Linked DNA regions of Homo sapiens: all the other regions are linked to region 3. The links are contacts of gene promoters, found by promoter capture Hi-C in human tissues and cell types (Jung and others, 2019). All regions are on one chromosome and are shown on one strand. Each heading gives the region's core, a stretch centred on a gene start or on the middle of the fragment in contact. The rest is flanking DNA. Distances are from core to core; before and after follow the strand shown. Region 1 overlaps USP48 (ubiquitin specific peptidase 48). Region 2 overlaps USP48 (ubiquitin specific peptidase 48). Region 3 holds the start of CELA3B (chymotrypsin like elastase 3B). Region 4 overlaps USP48 (ubiquitin specific peptidase 48).

Evidence for each region. Contacts are between HindIII fragments. The study calls those that stand out against the background at their distance.
Region 1: a fragment that was not itself captured here is called in contact with the fragment with the promoter of CELA3B in region 3 in 2 of the 25 tissues and cell types used here (H1 embryonic stem cells and mesendoderm cells).
Region 2: a fragment that was not itself captured here is called in contact with the fragment with the promoter of CELA3B in region 3 in 1 of the 25 tissues and cell types used here (bladder).
Region 4: a fragment that was not itself captured here is called in contact with the fragment with the promoter of CELA3B in region 3 in 2 of the 25 tissues and cell types used here (H1 embryonic stem cells and dorsolateral prefrontal cortex).

What each region holds. Positions count from the first base shown.
Region 1 is chr1:21,725,541-21,728,897 of GRCh38, reverse strand. USP48 (ubiquitin specific peptidase 48) reads left to right here. Exons shown (of 27, transcript NM_032236.8): 11 at 179-328. Among named protein-coding and RNA genes, the nearest start is that of USP48, 56 kb to the left of the region's middle. The HindIII fragment of the contact is 3,775 bases long and covers 189-3,357 here.
Region 2 is chr1:21,762,992-21,766,160 of GRCh38, reverse strand. All of the region lies in intron 1 of USP48 (ubiquitin specific peptidase 48), which reads left to right. Among named protein-coding and RNA genes, the nearest start is that of USP48, 19 kb to the left of the region's middle. The HindIII fragment of the contact is 8,017 bases long and covers 1-3,169 here.
Region 3 is chr1:21,975,085-21,978,505 of GRCh38, reverse strand. CELA3B (chymotrypsin like elastase 3B) reads right to left here and starts at 1,484. Exons shown (of 8, transcript NM_007352.4): 1 at 1,424-1,484; 2 at 52-137. The coding sequence starts at 1,466. The HindIII fragment of the contact is 22,565 bases long and covers 1-3,421 here.
Region 4 is chr1:21,746,476-21,749,637 of GRCh38, reverse strand. It overlaps USP48 (ubiquitin specific peptidase 48), which reads left to right. Exons shown (of 27, transcript NM_032236.8): 7 at 1,367-1,500; 8 at 2,489-2,571. Among named protein-coding and RNA genes, the nearest start is that of USP48, 35 kb to the left of the region's middle. The HindIII fragment of the contact is 4,676 bases long and covers 1-3,162 here.

The sequences.
Region 1 (3,357 bases), core at 827-3,326, 250 kb after region 3:
GTGGCTGTCTTCACTTTTACTTCTGCCTTCAGTTTGGAGGTTTCTAGCAGACAGGGAGACCATAGTTGGAATTTCTGCCAATGTTTTAATCAGTATTTGATATGATTTAGAGATTAGCATGGTTCACTATATGTGAAAACAAGAATAAAGTTGTTTTTTGTCTTTCTGTTTTGAATAGCCTTTCTTCAAGAGCTGGTAGATCGGGATAATTCCAAATTTGAGGAGTGGTGTATTGAAATGGCTGAGATGCGTAAGCAAAGTGTGGATAAAGGAAAAGCAAAACACGAAGAGGTTAAGGAGCTGTACCAAAGGTTACCTGCTGGAGCTGGTCTGTAAGATATTCTGGGACAGCACTGTTGCCATTAAGTGCCTTGTTTTTTTATGTTCACAAATGTATATGAAGAAACTTTCTCAAACTTACTCTTTCTAATAACCCACTAAAGCCAGCTTAAACACTCTAAAAGTACTTTGTAAACCAACAATAACTTGATGTGTAGCATTCCATATTATTTCATTACGTTGTACTCCTAAAAATGGGAAGCTGTTAATAAATTATAACATTTAGGTCAGCACTCTGCATCCATGAGTATTGTAGATATTTATATTTTGTGAGATATTAACTTGTTTAAGAAAAATCCGATTGGATTACTATGGAAAAAGCAACTTGCCTGTTCTGTTTCTTTGCATACTTTGTGACCTAACAGTTTTAACAGACATTCTATTATATGAATACAGTTTTTTTGATACTATTAGATTAACTTGAAGTTTAATACCAAATATTATGCTAAGAGTAGAAAAGCTTTCTGCTGACCCCTGATTTCTTAGAAATATCCCACATAATCCAGCTTATCCCTTTTCTGTATATGTTTATTCAGGTTTACCTGATGTCTCAAAATGAAACCAAATTAAGCCTTTTTAAAGGCTGATGTGCCATTTGTATTAAGTTATCTTTGTCATTTTAAAGACATGAATTCCCCAAGCCTAATTCCTACTTAAGGAAGAGAGACAATTTAGTCCTTACTTTAGAAAATAAATACTTAAGCATAATTGTACTTGTGGTTTGTCTTTTTAATATCTTAATTTTCCATTACTAGTATAACTTTAAGCAAAATGTAAACAAAAATTGCCAAGTCTATAAGAATATATTTTAACTAAATTTTAATTCAATTCTGACCCTTCTTTGTAATCTGTTACTTTAACTCTGTCCAAGGGTTGGGATTACCCTAAATAATTAAACTGACCTTAATGTAACTGGAAATGATTTGGAAATGAACCCATGATTCAGATCTCTAAATTTATAGGTCTTTGTTCAAAGGTGTTGGGACCTAGAAATCTATTTTCCAAACTTTATTCACGGTTTCCTGTGTCCACTGGGCAAGAGAAAGGGACTTAACTGGGTCTAAAGTGAAATACTCATTTGAACCACTCTTTAGAACTATAGAGTTCAAAGATGTTATGTGTCAAGTTAGCACTGTGCTTCCTTTGGCTGTTTTCATTCAGCATATAGGAACCTTATGTTCTTAGAATATGCTTATGTTCTTAGAGTATTTCTCTGTGTTATTTATACTTTTACCAATTATGAGCTATATAATTCTTTTCCATTTGCAGTAAACTTATATTGTAGACAGTCCACGCTGTAAAATTATGTAGAATCTCAAAGTTAATGAGCATGGTTTTGTGCTGGCAAGAGAAGTCTTTTGTTATGCATTTTCTAAATCTTATTTTTGTGTGTGAACATATTTAAAAAAACAAAGATCACTTACCCTAAAATCTAAGCCTCAGTAGGAACGTGCTTTTGGCCCTTTTTATTTCCATTGAAATATACTTAAATTATCTCTAGGTAAAGTGTTTCAGATGTTTTTGATGCTGTGATTGTTCTAGACTTTATAACTTTCCAAAGAAAATGTGTCATGTTCAAAATCCAGGTTTTTTTTTTTCTTTTTAAAGAACTTTGAACCAAAATGTATATTTCCCTGTGGTAAATATTTTAATATTTTGCTTTCCTCATCAAATGCTGAGGTTTCATATAGTCCGGTATCTCCAGCTTGATAATAGGAGAGTTCTCCCTCATTTGGAGTTGATTATGTCCATGGCCTTTGGAAAGCAATGCTTGTAGTTTACTGAATCACAAATACTAGGGAATATATTTGAGGGGCCTACTTAGAGTCTTTTTCTAGTGCAGAAACATCTGTAGTGTAAAAACTTTGCCACAAACAGAATCTGCCTTAACTATGAGACTTGTGCTCCACTTGTATTCTCAGGCAAGCTCTTGGCAGAGTCAGTGCAACTCTTTATGATGATAGAGACTGAAAATGGAAAGAAAGACAGACTTCTGTGACCATAGTCACTCTTCCTTCATGGAGCCCACAGCGCACTAAAGTGAAATCTGGAGAACTTGCTGTTAGTAGTAAGCATGGTATTAGATTAGAATTATAGGCCTGTTCTCTGCTTTCTGTCTTCCTCCTCTTACTATAAAACCGTACATAGTTTTTCTAATCATTGTATCTTACATTAAATTTATATTGAACAATTCAAAAACCAAAACAACAAGCTTTCCTTGGAAGTTTTCTGTGAGATTGGAAAATGTTGTCTTGCCTTTGAGCCACATTGTTGCTGGACAGTCAGGGCCACAGTCACCCTAGGCTTTGAATTCCTGCAGACATCCCCTGGCAAGGAGGGCTTTGTGCATTTTGAGCTTTCCTAGATTCCTTTCATTGTGAGGGCCAGGATTCTTAGGGTGTTTTCTTTCAGTTAGCAATAACAGATACTGCTGTCTGTCCACTCCTCCCCAGCTGCTGGGGAAACTAGGATGCCTAGTGACTTATTCTTGAATGTTGCTCTTTATCACAATCCTGTTTTTTCTCCTTTGATAGCCTTCATATTGCTTACCATTTTAATCTAATTGACTGTCCTTGGGAAAAGATGAGAGTATGCTAAGACTTTGATCTTGCTTTCAGAAAGGGATCATTTATCTTTGCATTCCCCAGATACCCAGTGTACTCTATCCCTGGCAGATTAAGCTTGATAAATGGCAAATAAAGTCGGGAGGCATTTTGAATGTAATTAGCCATACCATGATATACTGTAAAGTGCTGCAGCTGTGTTACATATACTGCATCTTAAAGTCTCCTCTTTTTTTTTTTTGAGATGGAATTTCACTCTTGTTGCCCAGGCTAGAGCGCACTGGTGCAATGTCAGCTCACCACAACCTCCGCGTCCCGGGTTCAAGTGATTCTCCTGCCTCAGCCTCCCGAATAGCTGGTATTACAGTCGTGTGCCGCCATGCCCAGCTAATTTTTTGTATTTTTAGTACAGACGGGGTTTCTCCCTGTTGGTCAGGCTGGTCTCAAACTCTGG
Region 2 (3,169 bases), core at 396-2,895, 210 kb after region 3:
CCTAGCCTCAAGTGATCCTCCCGCCTCGGCCTTTCAGAGTGCTGGGACTACGGGTGTGAGCCACCACATCCAGCCTGGAAAATCTTTTTGTTACAATTTTGGGCATCATTCCAGATTTCTCCTTTCCTTTCTTGCCTGTTGCATCTTATTAGTCCCCAGTTCTATTGATTTCTTCCCATCAATATGCTTGAACTTCCTCCATTCCTATTCCCACTGAATTGCCTTTTTTTTTTTTTTTTTTTTTTTTTTTTTTTTTTTTGGAGATGGAGTCTCACTTTGTTGCCCAGGCCGGAGCACCATGGGATCTCGGCTAACTGCAACCTCGGCTTCGTAGTTTCAAACTATTCTCCTGTCTCAGGTGATCCACTCACCTCAGCCTTCCAAAGGGCTAGGATTACGGGTGTGAGCCACCACACCCGGCCTAAATTGGCTTTTTAAGACCTCATCTTCCACTAGAAAAATTGTTAGTTATGTCTCACACCTTGTTTAGCTTCGGAACGTCTCATGCCTTGTTCAGCTTCGGGCTGTCCCCCCCTTTTTTTTTTTGACAGAGTCTCGCTCTGTCACCCAGACTTGAGTGCAGTGGCGTGATCTCGGCTCACTGCAACCTCCGCCTCCCGGGTTCAAGCGAGCCTTCTGCCTCAGTCTCTGGAGTAGGTGGGACTACAGGCGCGTGCCACCATGCCTGGCACATTTTTGAATTTTTAGTAGAGAACGGGGTTTCACCATATTAGCCAGGCTGGTCTCAAACTCCTGACCTCAAGTGATCCGCCTGCCTCGACCTCCCAAAATGCTGGGATTACAGGCATGAGCTACCACACCCCGCCCGGTCTGTCCTGTTTACTGCTGCCAAAGTGTGTCCCTGGCCTAAAATCACAGCAGATGTCTGCTTAGTACGTCATAACCAAACCTTTTGGAACCTATCCTCTGCCTAACACGTTGGTGTTCTCATACAGTGCAGTCTTGGAACAAAGTACCCATTAAATTATCTGAATTCCTTATCGTACTATGGCATTGCCATTGTGCTGTTATTACTCAAGTTTGGTGGACCTGTGCCCAGAAGTAGAATTATTGAAACAAAAACATTGTTGTCATTTAACATTTTTGAGATGTTTTCTTTAGTTATTTTTCCTGCAGGGTTATATGATATTTTGATTTATAAGAAATATATGCTTAGTCTTTGTACTACTTCTGGCACAGCTCCTAAAACCTTTGGGATCTCTGAAGTGACTAAGTGTCTTTTTGTATGCTAATGAAATGACTGATGGCTGGGAGCTCTTGGTAGCCTCCACATGGGCTGGTTGCCAGGAGAACCAACCACGATGAGAGGTTTAGAACTTTTTAGTCTGACCTCTGGGAGGGGAGAGGACTAAAGGTTGCTAATCTCCAGTGGCCAGTGATTCAATCAGTCATGCCTATGTAATCAAGTCTTTTTTTTTTTTTTTTTTTGAGACGGAGTGCCACTCTGTCACCCAGGCTGGTGTGGGGTGGCACAATCACGATCTCGGCTCACTGCAACCTCCGCCTCCCGGGTTCAAGCAGTTCTCTGCCTCAGCCTCCAGAGTAGCTGGGATTACAAGCACCTGCCACCATACCTGGCTAAGTTTTGTATTTTTAGTAGAGTCAGGGTTTCACCATCTTGGCCAGGTTGGTCTTGAACTCCTGACCTCATAATCCACCAGCCTCGGCCTCCCACTGCGCCCAGGCTTTTTTTTTTTTTTGGAGACAGGGTCTCTCTCTGATGCCCAGGCTGGAGTGCAGTGGCGTGATCTCAGCTCACTGCAGCCTCTGCCTCCCGGGTTCAAGCAATTCTCTTGTCTCAGCTTCCTGAGCAGCTGGGACTATAGGCATATGCCACCACACCTGGCTAATTTTTTGTATTTTTAGTAAAGATGGGTTTTCGCCATATTGGCCTGGCTGGTGTCAAATTCCTGGCCTCAAGTGATCTGCCTGCCTCAGCCTTGCAAATTGCTGGGACTACAGGTGTGAACCACTGCTCCCAGACACTGTCTCATATTTTGTGAAACACTCAACCTCCTTGATCTGTTTTGATAGTTGATAGACACAGGTACACATAACTGTTTTTCTACTGTAAGGAAATTGGCACACACATGATGATAAATGATCCTTGATACCTGGGGCCTACTCCTAAGGAGGGATAAAATGGAGTTAGGGGCATTGGAGAATGACGAATGGGAGAGGCTACAGCCCTCTGTGGTTGGCATTCTGCTGTGCTGCTAAGGCTGGCTTTAGAAGTAACAGCTTATAATTAGAACTGTGATTTGTGTCTGCCTGTCCATCCGTCCTCCCTCCCTCCCTCCCTTCCTTCCTCCCTTCCTTTTCTTGAAACAGAGTTTCTCTCTAGTTACCAGGGTTGGAGTGCAATGGCATGATCTCGGCTCACCGCACCCTCTGCCTCCTGGGTTCAAGTGATTCTCCTGCCTCAGCCTCCTGAGTAGCTGGAATTACAGGCATGTGCCACCACGCCTGGCTAATTTTTTGTATTTTTAGTAGAGACGAGGTTTCTCTATGTCAGCCAGGCTGGTCTCGAACTCCCGACCTCAGGTGATCTGCCCGCCTTGGCCTCTCAAAGTGTTGGGATTATAGGCGTGAGCCACTGCGCCCAGCTGTTATTTGTGTTTGTTAAGTAGATTCTTTACCTCTCCAAGTAAGAGAACAAACACAACCCCGCCCCCCCATATTGGGCTATGTATGAAAGGCTTAGCAACAATTTAGAAGTTTAGAAAGCCCAAGCCCTTTTAATGCAAAGCACCGCCATTGGCTTTTTGGTTCCCACCTGAAGTGTGGCCATAGAGGCTCGGGAGCCATAGGTTTGGCCTGGGGTGGTAGTCTATCACAGGTCACCTGCACTTGGCATTCTGCTGTGGTGGTGTTCTAGCCGACTGAAGACGTATTCAGTGATACCTAGCAAGCAATTAATTTAAGAAAATTTAAAAAGAACAATGCCAGTGTTGTGGGGCCTAATAATACAGATTGCTCCCAGCTTCTCATAGTAGCTTTTGAAAGTCTTATTGTGGTAATATTTAGGCCATAGGTTGTGTTTGCCTTTTGATGCCAGCTTTAGAACCAGTTGAGTATGCATGATTTTTGGGTGGGGACAGGGAGAGCCTACCTTTTCTTCATTGTCTGAATTATTTTGCTATCAGGA
Region 3 (3,421 bases), core at 235-2,734:
TTAGGGTCCAGAGCCCACGGTGGGAATGAGGGCAGCTGCTATTGCTCTTACCTGCCAGGGCCAGCTGTAGGGGACCGCATCCTCACCATTGACAACGCGGCTGGAAGGGCGAGAGGAAGGTGGGCCATAGCCTGAGGCTAGAGGGGAGAGGAGAGCTGTCAATCAGCGGGAGGGTCCCCAAAAGCAAAGAGGAGGCCAGGGTCCCAGTCCAAGCCGTGCCTTCAAGTGGCTGTGTGACCCCATGCAAGCCCCTTTCGCCCTCTGGACCTCAGTAACCACATATGAATAGTGAACATTTAAACTAGAGCAGGGCTTTCCAGAATCCCAAGACTCCAGGGATAGAGATTCAAATGTGGCCTCCTTCATTGGGAGGATTGAAGAGCTTGATACACTTAGAACAATGCCTGGCCCTCAATGAGCCCTCAAAAAGTGAGAGCTATTGTCATACAGAGTGGAGGCTTTAAAGAAGGACTTCCTGGGTTCAAAGTGCAGCTCTGGGCTGTGTGTGGTGGTTCACACCTGTAATCCTAGTGCTTTGAGAGGCCGAGGCGGGAGGATCGCTTGAGCCCGGGAGTTTGAGACCAGCCTGGGCAACATAGCAAGACCTCATCTCTAGAAAAATAAAGTACAATAAAATAAAGTAGCCAGGTATGGTGGCATGTGCCTATAATCTCAGCTACTCAGGAGGCTAAGGTGGTAGGATTGCTTGAGGCCAAGATTTTGAGACCAGTCTGGGCAACAAAGCAAGACCCCATCTCAACAAAAAAAAAAGCAAAAAATAAAAACATTAAGTGCAGCTCTGCCTTTTGTTCTATGATAAGCTACTTTACTTCCTTGAGGGTCGGTAAAATGGGGAAAATGATAGTACTGATCTCCTGAGGCTGTTGTGAGAATTACATGAGAAAGTATAAGGAAAACCCTAAACATTCTGCCTGGCATAGTAAGCACTCAATCAATGTTATCTGTTACCATTATTGTCAGTCAAGGGAGGCTGCTTGGAAGAGGTGGCCCTGAGCTGGAATGTAATATGGCAGAGAGACCAGGAAAAGGCCAGAGCATAGAATATGGAGCCAGGTAGGGGGAGTGTGAGAGGAGAGTTGGAGTGGTAAGCAGAACAGTGGAAATTCCAACCCAAGAAGTCCAACCACACAGCCCAAACTCTTAACCGTTTGACTTTGTTTACTGCCCCCATCAAGGACTTCCACCACAGCCCTTTGGGGTCTTTCTCCATCCACGGCTTCCCCTCCACTCTCCTGCTCCATCATAAGCTGAAAGCCCCCACAGTCATGCCCCCGGGTACAAGCTGAGACCCCCTCCTGTGGAACCAGGCATAGGGTGTCATGGGACTTAGAGCAAGTGGTAGATTTCAAGGATTCCTAATCTAGGGCAGCCCAGGGAGCACACACACAGGTTGGGGTCTTACCAACGGCCACAAGGAGGAGGGAACTGAGCAGCCGGAGCATCATGAGTTTTGCGATGATAGGAAAAGGGCACAGAACCTGGGGCTCTAATATAGGGCAGAAGGTAAGCAAAGGGGGCTGACTGGGCCCCACTCCCAGAACAGGTGGTGGAAATGCAGGTCTCCCATGGTCCAAGGCCACAGTTCTCACTCACTGCAGATGGAGGAGTGACAGCCAAAGGAAGGACCTAGCGTTCCCTCCAACAGGTGGCCGCACAGGTGGTGTGGAGTGGCCAACTGATAACAAGAGTTCAGGAAGAAAAGCTCATGTCAGGACAAGACCTCCTCTTTCGGAAAGAACAGGGGCACTGGAACCGGGCAGACCACGGTTCAATCCTGGTTCTGCCACCTCCAAGCTCTGCGACTTTGGGCGCATGGCTTAACCTCTCTGAGTCTCAGTTTTCTGCTCTCTAACATGAGATTTATATTAGTACCCACCTCCACAAAAAATTTTTTGTTGAGCACTTTTTCTCTATGTATCAGGCACTGTTCTAGGGGATACAGCTGTGAAAAATACATGGTCTCAGCCCTTCTAGAGTTTGAGTCTAGGCCAGGAGCGGTGGCTCACACCTGTGATCCCAGCGCTTTGGGAGGCCAAGGTGGGAGGATCAATTGAGGTCAGAAGTTTGAAACATGGTGAAACCTTATCTCTACTAAAACTACAAAAATTAGCAGGCGTGGTGGTGGGCACCTATAATCCCAGCACCGGTAATCCTAGCTACTGTGAGCCTGAGGGAGGAGAATCATTTGAACCCAGGAGGCAGGGAGGCAGAGGTTGCAGTGAGCCGAGATCATGCCACTGCACTCCTGCCTGGGCCACAGAGCAAGACTGTCTCAAAAACAAACAAACAAACAAACAAAACAGAAAAGAAAATGGGGCGGGCACGGTGGCTCACGCCTGTAATCCCAGCACTTTGGGAGGCTGAGGTGGGTGGATCACGAGGTCAGGAGATCGACACCATCCTGGCTAACACGGTGAAACCCCGTCTCCACTAAAAATACAAAATGTTAGCCGGGCGAGGTGGCGGGCGCCTGTAGCCCCAGCTACTCAGGAGAGTGAGGCAAGAGAATGGCGTGAACCCCAGGGGGCAGAGCCTGCAGTGAGCCAAGATGGCGCCCCTGCACTCCAGCCTGGGCGACAGCGAGACTCCGTGTCAAAAAAAAAAAAAGAAAATGAAAATGGGTGATTGGGGTAGGAATGGAGTAAGTCATTTAGATGAGGGGGACAGAGAAAGTGACATTTGGGCTGAGGAGGTCATATCTGATGGAGTCCTGAGGATAAGTAAAAGCCAGCAACGGGAATCCCTGAAAGAAACGCGTTCTGAAGGGAGGCGACAGCAGGTGCGAAGTTCTGGAGGCTGCAATGGGCTTGGCTTGTTCAAGGAAAGGGAGGCCAGTGTGACAGGAGCTTGGTAGTCAAAGTAGAGAGGGGTGGGAGATGAGGTCAAAGAGCAGGCAACCCCGAAAGTGGAATTCACAGGTGATCCAGCGGTTTCCCTCCTAGGTCTACACCGTGAGAAAACCTTAGGCATGTGCTCCAGGAGGTGTGGATGAGATTGTTTGCCGCAGCCCCTGTTCTCAAACCTCAACAGCAAAGACCTAGAAACAACTCCCACGTCCATCAAGGTTCATAGGTCAATATGTGTAGCATATTCACACAATAGATTTTTTTTTTTTATAGTGGTGCGATCTTGGCTCACTGCAACCTCCACCTCACGGGTTCAAGCGATTCTCCTGCCTCAGCCTCCCGAGTAGCTGGGATTACAGGCGCGCACCACCACGCCTGGCTAATTTTTGTATTTTTAGTAGAGATGGGGTTTCACCATGTTGGCCAGGCTAGTTTCCAACTCCTGACCTCTGGTGATCCACCCACCTCGACCTCCCAAAGTACTGGGATTACAGGCATGAGCCACTGCACCCGGCCAGACGGGGCAATTTAAATAGATCCCTCCTGGGGGAAAG
Region 4 (3,162 bases), core at 641-3,140, 230 kb after region 3:
GAGCAAGACCCTGTCTGTAAAAATAAAATAATGAAAAAAAAATTTTTTTTTAATTTGCAGACTGGATGTGGAGAGTAAGAGTAAGAGGGGAGTCAAGGATTACTAAGGTTTTTGGCCTGATCAACTGAAAGAATGGAGTTGCTCTAACTGAGATAGGGAGGACCTGGGAGGAGCAGGGTTGAGAGGAATTAGGAGTTTGGCTTTGAGCATGTTACGTTTGAGAGGTATAGTTCCAGGAAGAAGTCGTGGCTGGATAAAATCCCCAAGGGAGTGGGAGAGAGACAAGGACTGAGGCCTGGGACATTCAAATGTTAGGGATCAGGGAGGTAGGAGCAGCTGGCACAGGAGTCCCTGGAGGAATGCCAGTGAATTAGGAGGCAAGTCAGTGAGTGTGGTATCCTGGAAGCCAAGTGAAGAGATGATGGTACCAGTATTGCATTACTTACAATATGGTAAGTACAATATGGTACAAAAGCTTGAGCTCAGGAGTTTGAGTCTTCGGTTAGCTATGATTGGCTGCAATTAGCTTTATAGAAATATAAAGGCAAATTTTAAAAAGAAACCACTATCAGCTAAAATGTTTGATTTTTCTACACGTCTCTTTTTAGCTTTGTCTCATGAATATGTTTCAGTAATTTTAAACAAATATGTATATAATTTTGTATTCTGGTGCCCATATATCGTTTTTACACTACCCTCCTCCCTCCTGTTTTTTTCTTCATTTTTTTGAGACAGAGTCTCGCTTTGTTTCCAGGCTGGAGTGCAGAGGTGTGATCTCAGCTTACTGCAAGCTCCACCTCCCGGGTTCAAGTGATTCTTGTGTCTCAGCCTCCCGAGTAGTTGGGACCACAGGTGTGTACCACCATGCCTGGCTAATTTTTGTATTTTTAGTAGAGACGGGGTTTCACCTGGGCAGCCAGGCCGGTCTCGAATTCCTGGCCTCAAGTGATCCACCCACCTCGGCCTCCCAAAGTGTTGGGATTACAGGCGTGAGCCATGTTGCCCAGCCTTTTTGCTGTCTTTAAATGAATGTTGCATCAAAATACATGTGACATTTCTTTTTAAAACTTACTTTAGAATTCCCAGAAGTGGGATTACCAGGACAAAGAACCTAAAACAAGTATTTTTAATATCATACATTTGGGAAATAGGCACATCAGTTTTAAATATCAGTGTATTCAAATTGATAATGTCACTGCTGAACAGTTCCCATTACTTTTGTGTGTCCATTATTTATAGTAGCTGTTTTTAAGTAGCTTAAGTGAGAGCTATTAACTGAAATGAAATTATACTTTACATCAAGGGTTTTATCACTTGTTTTAAACCCATCTTCTTTTTAAAATTAATATGTCTTATTCTTGATCAGGAAGAAAAATTAGAAGGAGACAATCGCTATTTTTGCGAGAACTGTCAAAGCAAACAGAATGCAACAAGAAAGATTCGACTTCTTAGCCTTCCTTGCACTCTGAACTTGCAGCTAATGCGTTTTGTCTTTGACAGGTAAATGTGTGCAAATATTAGTGTTTGTTGTTCATTGTGGTCTACTATGTACAGACTTTACCATAGATGAGATGATAAAATGGTTGTAATTTGAAACTCTAGATTTGAGGATGAAAGTTATAGATGGAGGCTGTCATTTTGAAATGTCGATATTTCATGATTTTATCATAAAAAATTTTAAAGAAGCCAACCATATATAAATGATAACTAGAAAAGTAAAAAATCCTTACTTTTTTTATTCTAAGAAAGTATTAAAAACTGCAAGGGCCGGGTGCGGTGGCTCACGCCTGTAATCCCAGCACTTTGGGAGGCTGAGGCAGGTGGATCACCTGAGGTCAGGAGTTCGAGATCAGCCGGGCCAACATGGTGAAACCCCGTCTCTACTAAAAATACAAAAATTAGCCGGGCGTGGTGGCAGGCGCCTGTAATCCCAGCTACTGGGGAGGCTGAGGCAGGAGAATCACTTGAACCCAGGAGGCGGAGGTTGCAGTGAGCCGAGATTGCACCATTGTACTCCGGCCTGGGCAACAAGAGTGAAACTCTGTCTTGGAAAAAAAAAAAGAAAGAAAAACTGCAAGTAATTGAATTACCCTGACCTTCTGTATTGTCCTTTATTTTAAATAGAATAAATTTTGTACTCATTACACCCCCGCCATGGGAATGTATTTTTCATTTTATAATTAAAATCAAGGCAATGTTTGCACATGTGCATGTCTTCTGTAAAGCAGGATAATCTGTTTTGTGATTAAGTTGAAACTTCTGGAAAATAAGCTGTGTTTGGAATCAGCACTTCGCATTCACATTTTTTAACCTCATATTTGTCCAGCTATAAAACAATATTCTGTTTACTTCTAATTGTACATGTTTTGGAGGAAGATTGTGAAGTGAAAGCTAGCTACTGTTGAGTTTATTAAAATAGCTAATAGAGCTTATATATTGTATTATGATTGTTTTAAATGTAAATATAATCAGCTTTCCTCTTGGTTAGGCAAACTGGACATAAGAAAAAGCTGAATACCTACATTGGCTTCTCAGAAATTTTGGATATGGAGCCTTATGTGGAACATAAAGGTAATATTTTTACTGAGGAGTAAACATTATAATGCTCAGAGACTCTAACTTGTGATCGGCTTGTGATTAATATAGAATAGCAGTCAATTGCCAATTTTTGTTTGCTAATCTCTCTCTGGGAACCTCTGTCTGGGAACAAAGACTTTTTTAGGAGAGCCAAGATGTTAATTCCATTTTGTGTGAGTAAGCATATAGCAAAGATGAGGTGGTTCATCGATATGTACAGAATTAAGGGTATAAAAATAATTTGTAAAAAATGAAAAAGGTATTTTACTGTTTCTGAACCCGCACTTGCCACCTTAGTTTCAATACTATTATTTATCATTTCTCAAAACTAACAGTCTCCAAGCGCCTCTATTCACTTTTTTAAAAACGTTGTCCCAGAAACATTAGGTGGCATAATTCCAGTATTTATGCTTTCATTTTTCATATCTGCAACTACTGATACGCCCTAGGATGCTATCATTGTTTTAACAAGAAATAAGTACTGCTTTTTTCTTTTGGTAGTCTTCATCCTACCAAACAGGTTGAGTCTTACTAGAGAAAGGACTGTTTTACTTCCCTTTAAGGTTGATTGTAGTACTTATAAAA